Regions from separate parts of the Homo sapiens genome. Here region 2 is linked to region 1. Evidence: promoter capture Hi-C in 16 types of primary human blood cells and fetal thymus (Javierre and others, 2016). All regions are on one chromosome and are shown on one strand. The core of a region is centred on a gene start or on the middle of the fragment in contact, and the rest is flanking DNA. Distances in the headings are between cores, read along the strand shown. Region 1 holds the start of TRPC7-AS1 (TRPC7 antisense RNA 1). Region 2 has its middle 10 kb from the start of TIFAB.

Region 1 (4,020 bases), core at 175-2,674:
CACCCAACCCCCACCGCATCGGCCCATTCTCCTCCCGAAGCATCCCTGGGCCACAGGTTCCCAAGGCCACCTCCAGACTGGGCCCGCGAGTGGGGCGGCCCTGGTAGCGTATCCACAGAAGTTATTATGAGGTAATTTTATTTCTTTCCATTTTAGGTAAAAATAGTAAATACAAGATAATCTTAATAAAGGTAAAAATACATCATTTGGATTTTGTTGTTGTTTTCTAAACAGTGCTACCTACAGTACAGTTTTCAATTTAGGATTTTTAAACTTTTTTTTTATATAAACAAATAGAACTATTTTGCTATTAGGCTGTGTTCTCATCTGGCACTTAAGAATAGATCACAGGTCACCTCCTGGTTCTGTTTGGATGTGTTGGGGGTGGCAGGGAGGGAGTGAGAAGGAGTTTGTGGGTTGAGGTGTTTGTCTTCCCAGGACACAGCCAGAGCTGCAGTCCCACCTGCAGTGGGAGGGCACAGGTGTGCACCCAAGATGGCCTTTTCCTGCTCTGGCCACAGGGATGGGTTTCACTGTGGCTGGACCAAAGGTCTCACACTCGTCAGGGGGCTGTTCCTCCCCTCCTCCCATGGTAGCTTTTCTTACCCAACCACCTAGATTCACAGCAGTTCTGGGTCTAGGCAGGCCAGCGGGCTGGAGATGTCAGTCATGCTGCAAGAGACTGAGCCAGGAGATCCCCTTCGTGTCCTAGAGGAGTGGGCTGGGGACCCCTCCCCACCAAGGATGGGGGCGAGGGCATCCAACCTGGCCTTGGAATGCTGGTAGAAGTCACAGACGCCGATGTGGGCTGCTAAATGTCTTTGCCCTTGTTCACCCTCAGGTGGTCTTTGTTTAAGTTCTTTCCAAACTTCTCGCTGAGTTGTTGAATCAGGTCTGCCAGCTCACCAGTAGCTTGAGATTTTTCCTCAAGAAGCTCATAGCGCAGGCTGGAGATATCTTGCTTGATTTCCTTCAGCTCGCCTGCAAGGACAGAGGAGATTTTGCTGAGTCTGAGTAGGTGGAAGCTCGGGGCTTGTCCCATGCACATGTGGGCATGTGCATCCTTCCAGTGGAATGTCGGGTCCTGGGCCAGCCCACCAGGGTTGAAGGTGAGGCAAGGGGGGCTCTATTTGAACCCAGAACCACCCAGCTCCCCCACCACTGAAGGACACATCGATCCATAGAAAGCCCTTCTCCTCCCATTCCAGGAAAACCTTTCCCTTAGGGGTTTGAAGGAGGAGTCAAGATCAGGGCTGTGAATTGTGTCTAGCACTTGTTTCATAAAATACTTGTTAGAAAGTTTGTTTCAGAGTCACTAAAGGCAGATTTCAAGACTCTGGAAAACAACCCCATTAACCAGAGCATTGCTTTTGATGATGCTATGTTTTGTTCTGTCATTGTTATTTGTAGGGAGGAGAAACTCCCAGGAGCCTGGAGAGAATGGCTCGGCACAGCAGATGCAGCCGTGGTGGCCATGGAGCTGACCAGCCTCTTGGGAGTGAGCTGGCCACCTGAGCACGGTCCACTCAGCCCACACAAGCAGCAGCACCACCTCGCTGACAGGAGCTTCGTCAATGCCTGCCGCCTCCTCCTTCCATAACGAGGGACCACCTAGCAGGGACTTTCACTTTTATTTCCACAGAGAACCTTGTGGTTAGAAGTCCAATGGGTCTAGGCTGTGGGAATCTTCTTATTAACCACAAACAGATGTCAAAAGGATCTTTCCTAATACTGTAGATACTGCACTTGGCTCGTGTGGGAGTCCACTGTCTGTGGAAACATTACTCGTCTATTTTTCAGGTATGGTCTATACACATAAAAGGCAGAGATCTTAAAGGTACAGTTTGATCCATTTTGACAAATGGATACACCCCCTGTTTTTATCAGATGCTTCACTGAGCCCCCGTTTCATGGTGTAATTTAAGTGCCATGACACCTGGATACCCCCACCTTCTATGATCAGTGATATTCACATGAATCAGTTACATACTGCTTGAGGCTGGCTGGCCTGACACTTGGCCATTGTTTGAGACCTACAAGTAGGTAGGTGGGCTGTTGTCTGCCCCTAAACCATGTCAGCTCAGGGGCAGTTCAGTTATGGCTGAGCTTCGAGCTGCATGCTGGGTGCCCCAGGATGAAGCAGAGGGTCACCCAATGACCAGGCTCTTTCTGTAGTTCCCTGTGGCCCAAGCTAGGAGAACAGAAACTTCAATCATGGATGAGGCTGTTTCTAGGTGGCAAATATTTGTCATAAGTATCTCATTAATTACCTGGCATAAAGTAATTTGCTTTTCATCTAAGAGTAACTGCTTAAAATAGACTGGAAAACAACCCAAACAGTGAAAATAATATAGTTGGTAAACTTCAGTGTATATCAGAGACCCTTGGTGCAGTTTTCCAAAAGCAGATCCCCAGACCCCACTCCAGAGATGCTGATTCATTAGGTCTGGGTGGGGTCTGGGATCTGTAGTTTTAACAGCTAGTTCTGAGGTGGGGAACACTTTGAGAAACACGGCTGTCAGTTAGATGCTGAGAACCTCCCACTGAGACTGGACAGGGCCAGTTAGAAGCAAGCGGCGGCAGACCCTAAACGCAGTGTGCATCTGCTCAGTGGATGTGCACCATGGAATGAAGTACAGCATTGGAATTCTGAACCATCCTGCACTCAAGAGGCATGAGGTTGGCTCAAGGCTGCCATTGCTGTGGGAGGCAGAGGAATGTCCCCTACTCCCAAGATGTCCCCGTCCTGATCCCTGATGTTCTGCCTGTGGGAAACATGACTGTTTCTCCTCAAAGGGGAACTGAGGTGGCAAATAGAATTCAGGTTGCTGATCAGCTGCCCTTAACAGAAGGAGATTATTCTGGATTGTCCTGGTGGAACCAATTCAATCACATGAGTCCTTAAAAGTGGAGGAGGGGCCGGGCGCAGTGGCTCATGCCTGTAATCCCAACACTTTGGGAGGCTGAGATGGGCGGATCACAAGGTCAGGAGTTCGAGACCAGCCTGACCAACATGGTAAAACCCCATCTCTACTAAAAAAATACAAAAATTAGCTGGGCGTGGTGGCACACACCTGTGATCCCAGCTACTCAGGAGGCTGAGGCAGGAGAATCACTTGAACCCAGGAGGCAGAGGTTGCAGTGGGCCGAGATTGTGCCGTTGCACTCCAGCCTGGGCAACAGAGTGAGACTCCATCTCAAAAAAAAAAAAAAAAATGGTGGAGGAGGAAGGCAGAAGAGTGGGGTCAGAGATGGGACAATGGAAGATGAGGCAGGGCAAATGGAGTGTGAGGGTGCCTGATGCCTGCTGCCAGCTCTGAGGTGGTGGGGCTGTATGCACAGACCAAGTGCTGGAGCTCAGGGCAGCCCAGCTGTGGCCAGCAAGGCAACAGGGACAGGCCTGCAGCCCCGTGGAAATGCACTCTGCCGACAACTGAATGAGCAAGGAGACTGAGCCTCCCTGGAGCCTCTGGAAAGGAGCACAGTGCCCTGACAACACTGTGGCCGTAGCCCAGTGAGACCCACAGAACCTGTGTTGTTTTAAATCACCACGTGGGTGGAAATCCAGTCATTTACCTTCATTGACTTCGTCATTTTCTCTGTCCACCTGGGCTTTCAGGACGTATCTTTTTATGAGCCGTTTCATGATTTTCTGAAATGCCAAGCAAGGAAGGGATCAGACAGGGCTGGCCTAATGCAGAGGCAGCCTGCGTGGTGTAGCAGGACCCCTCCCTCCCTTGAAGAGCCTCAGCAACCATGGCGACCCTCCCATGCCTGGCGCCTCACTCTGGAGGGGTGCCCTGCACAGTGCGGGTACCTGGCCAGCCTCTGTTTCGCCTCCCCCGCAGGATGCAATGTGCAACTGAACCTGGGATGTAACAGGAATACTTCTTAATGGCAGGAAGCTGAGCCAAGCAGAGAGAGAGACAGAGAGAAAGGGTGGAGTGGGCAGTGGCACAAATCTCTGCTCCAGGGGCCTTGGCCTGGCTCTGCCCTGCTCAGTCAAGTCATCTTTCCTGG
Region 2 (4,166 bases), core at 847-3,346, 750 kb before region 1:
CAGTGTCGGCAACCCAGCCTCCTTCCCCCTTGCCACGCTGCCGACCCTAGAGCATTGCCCTTGCCCATGTGGCCTCACATGGCTCACCCCCACCATACCCACATCCAAACAGGGGGAACTGGCAGGGGGCAAGCGTGGAGCACATCCTTTCCTTCGGAAGATGCGTCCTGGAAATTGCCCAATCACTTCTGCTTGCATCCTGTTGGCTGGTCTCAGGGAATGGCTAGTCCTAGCTGTCAGGGTGCCTGGGAGCTGTGTGATCAATGACAAAAGGAGGGTTCTATTATTATAGGAGAAGGGGAAATAGATATTGAAAGACAACAGGGTCTCCTTTTCCCAGCCGAACTGCAAACTCTTCAAGGGTTGGAAAGACTTCTCAAGCTTGCACCTCACCCTGTTGGGCTCCCCGGCTGCAGATTTGTTCACTGAGAGAGACTGATTGCTGAGCCGGCTCCACAGAACTGCTGCACTGAGAAGTGCCATGGTCAGCCCTCCACGTTCTCAGAGTGCAGAACAAAAGCCAAGAGCCAAGGACAGCAGCATGGGGCTGGGGTGTTGCTGTGGGGAAGACAGCCCTGAGAGAGAGGACTGGGAGCTGGAGAAGCAGATAAGCAGCAATTGGAGCATAGCTGATGGACAACCTTTGGATACACAGAAAGGGATGGCTAGAGGGAGGAAATTTAGTTTTTGAGATTTTTAAAATTTTTACATCAAAATATGCTCTGAATGTTTTAGTTCTCTTCAATGATTGAGCCTTCCAAAATGAAAAGCTTTGTTTTATTTTTATATCCCATTTTGAAAAGGTAACATATTCACATAGTTCACTTTTTTTTTTTTTTTTCAAAATAAAAAGTAGAGAGGAAAGTCTCTCTCACACTCCTCCCCACAGGTAACTGCTGTAATGGTGTCCTGTGTATCCTTCCAGAGAGTCTTGATGCGAGTACAAGCACACATGAATCTATATTCCAGCCACCCCACTCTGTTCCCAGCACTGTCTGCTGCCTTGCTTTGTGAAGGTATCCTTAAGGCCAGCAGCTCCCATTCTCCCCAGCAGTTTCTCACTTTTAACAGTTTTCTCCCTGTCCTGTGATATTTCACAAAACGAACCCAAGCCATGACAATAAATATTTCATACCTTTCGTGCATGACATGTTTCACATATGCTTTACAAACGTGCGTTTTCATTCGGAATCGAATGTTGAGGGAAATATGTCTTTTCCACATGGCCACTACCATAATATAAAAAGCATTTTCCTCCTCCCTCTGCCCCAGGGGGGATCTATATCATGAAAATGGAAAAGTGATGAGAAAATGAGCAATCCTGCCTACAGAGCTCTCTCCAAGTAGTTTTCCAGAAGCTCCCTGGGACTGCATCACCTCATGAGCCATAAATCACCAACTGGGCCTGGGCAACTTGTCACCCAGTGGTTCACTTAGTGACTTTGGCTGTTTCTTTTTGTTGGCCATTTACCTGAAGGGTGTCTGCTGTGTACGTGTTGGGAACCTACCTCAGAACCTGTCATTGGTGTTTGGCCTTTAGCTGTCTGCCTGCAATTGGCTGGCCATGGCATGGGATGGGCACATACTTTCCTATGGGCCCATCTGCAGTAAGAAGTGGCTTGTAGAGCTGCAGAGGTTCTAACTGAGGCTCAGGGCCATCGTGGCTCAGCCATTTGCAGGTAAGTTCTACTGCTGATGGGATTGCCACAGACCATGGAATGCCTCCAACACCTTTAAATCAAGCCTGGGGGCTCTCAGCTCAACCTTGGCAAGCCTTAATGTGTCTTCAGTGTAAGCCATGATCTGGTCCTCCTGGAAACAGGGAACCCTGGCACGAATGCTAGGGCCAGTGCTTGATAAATGCCACCCTTAATCTGCCTTCCTTTCCCCCCCATCCCCTACCCACTCCTGCTCGCCAACCCCAACACACCCAAATGTTGTTGGCAAGTATGACTTGGAGAACCAGATTTTTCCCTAGTCTCTTCTCTCAGATAACTTTCTAAAACCTCCCAGGCCCTACTCTAAGAAGGTATGTCATTATGAGTGCTAGGGGGCACTGTTGGGCAACTTTTGTGCACAGGAAATTGCCTGCTTGTGTGTTTTCAGAGGACGCGACGCTCGGTGGGGACAGCTGTCCCCACCCTCAGGCAGCTCTCAGGGACTCGGCATAGTTGCTCCCCCTGCAGGGCTAGAGCTACCTCCATGTCACCTCTTCAAGGCTGAAGGCTCTTGGAGGAATTAACTCTGCCCACCTCAGCTCAGGTGGAGAGCTGCCCTGCGAGATGTGAGTAGGGCTGCCTTTCCCTCCTCCCTTTCTCAGTCTTTAATTGACAACTGCTTGGCCTGGATGATTTTTTAGATAGGAGCTGAGGTGCCCCCCACCCCCGCCTTCCAACAACAGCACCCAGGAAAATCAAGGACACAACTTTTTATTCAATTCTGGTATTTGTTCTCATTGTTGGAATGATGAATGTCACAACTCTATTATTTGTTGGAAGTGTTTGTTGCAGACGTGCAGCTGCATCGGAATTCAACTGAATTCTGATGTTTTCACTTGGGAGAATCGAATTCCCCCATGGATCCTGCAGGGAAAGTGGTCCTAATGTTCAGGACAGGCACCCCAATCAAGCTAGGAGCCACCTGGATTTGGTGCCTTCTGCCTCAGTGGGTCCCTGTCCGCAAAGAAGAAACTAGCAGCTACTATGGGCCACACAGTGTGGTATTGTATACATTTTGTCCAAGTTGTCAACATTTTAAAATTGGAAGCCTGGAAATAAAACCCTCAATTTTTGCAGCTTCAGCTGAAAAGTCAGGAGATGAGGCTGGCCTGGGCTCGGGTTCCTGCAGGGCACTCGTCTGCTGGTGCAGACGCTTGGCGCTCCATCCCAGTTTGCCTCAGTTCCCCCAGTCCTGTTTCGTATATATTTATTTTATGTTCTAGGCTCCTGTAAGCCTTTGAGTTTGCAATCCTTTTGTGAGGTGTGGTAAACCCTAGTTAGCCAAAATGTAATTTTTTCCTTAGGACATGAGCCCCCGCAGAACCAAATAACAGAAATCACCATGAAGGAGCCAAAGTCTACACGTGAGTTGGGGCATGGGGCAGATAGCCTGGGTGGCTGGTGTTAGTTCCAGACAGACTGGAGTGCTCAGGGTCTCTCTATTGGGGCAAATCTCTCTGCTCCATCTTCATGTGGCCTTCTTCTCCGAGTGTGAAATCTCCCACCACCTTCCTGTGATGAGGATACTGTCGTTGTATTTAGGGTCAATCCAGATAATCTAGGGAAATCTCCCCATCTCAAGATCCTTAATTTGATCCCATCTTTTGCCACATGAGGTGACAGTCACAGGTTCCAGGGTTTAGGAAGTGGGTGTGTCTTTGGGGCCACTACTAAGCCTATCACGTTTGGCAAGCCTTCCTTCAGGAAGCTTGCATTCTAGAGACAGTCTGGAAAGGAAGGAGGAAACGAATAGGAATGGTGAGCATGTAGCTGCGGTGGGGGATGACTGTGCATTCAGAAACCCCCCCTGGGGAGATTCTGGTTCATCAGAGGCTGAAGGGAGTAAGGCAGCAGGCCGAGAGGTCCTGAGTGCAAATGCCCTGAAGCAGCAGCCTTGGTTAGACAGGGAACTGCCTGCAAGCGAAGGGAAGAGCAGTAACAGAGAGATGGCTGGAAACCAGGTGGGGTTAGATAGTCCTTGCAGGGCCTTTTAGATTCTGGTAGAGGGTTTGGATTCTATTCCAAGACAATAAAGGAGCTGTTGAAGGATGTCGGCTGTCGTGGGATGTGAGCCACTGAGGATGGTGCCTGAGATGGGGCAAGGCTAACAGATGCCCCTTACTCAGAGATCACCCCTTAGAGAGGTAGGGGTGGAATGGGAGGCTGCCTCTCTGGTGCACTATTGCCTGGCTACAGGCTTTGCTGGCCCCAGGTGCCCCTTTCGCTGGGCGCCTCCCGTGCTCCAGCCATGCTGCGAAAACTCAACACCCACATTTGTAACAGGGTGTTCTAGCCAAGATGGGACTCCAGCATTTTTGAAATCTCAGATCCTGTGCTTTTACCTTTAAGCTAAAGGTGAAGCTTTAAGAAGCCAGATTGCCTGGGTTTGAATCTGGAGACAGACACTTAACTATGTGAATGTGGGGGACCCCCATAACCTTCGTATAC

Evidence for each region. Contacts are between HindIII fragments. The CHiCAGO score rates a contact against its expected background, and 5 or more counts as called.
Region 2: a contact is called between a fragment that was not itself captured here and the fragment with the promoter of TRPC7-AS1 in region 1, in 3 of 17 cell types (naive B cells, total B cells and total CD8 T cells). The highest score is 8.0, in naive B cells.

The regions. Positions count from the first base shown.
Region 1 is chr5:136,212,624-136,216,643 of GRCh38, forward strand. It overlaps TRPC7-AS1 (TRPC7 antisense RNA 1), which reads left to right and starts at 1,425. Exons shown (of 2, transcript NR_046708.1): 1 at 1,425-1,800. It overlaps TRPC7 (transient receptor potential cation channel subfamily C member 7), which reads right to left. Exons shown (of 12, transcript NM_020389.3): 11 at 3,577-3,652; 12 at 122-981. The coding sequence ends at 812. The HindIII fragment of the contact is 8,916 bases long and covers 1-4,020 here.
Region 2 is chr5:135,460,356-135,464,521 of GRCh38, forward strand. No RefSeq gene overlaps it. Among named protein-coding and RNA genes, the nearest start is that of TIFAB, 10 kb to the left of the region's middle. The HindIII fragment of the contact is 2,656 bases long and covers 769-3,424 here.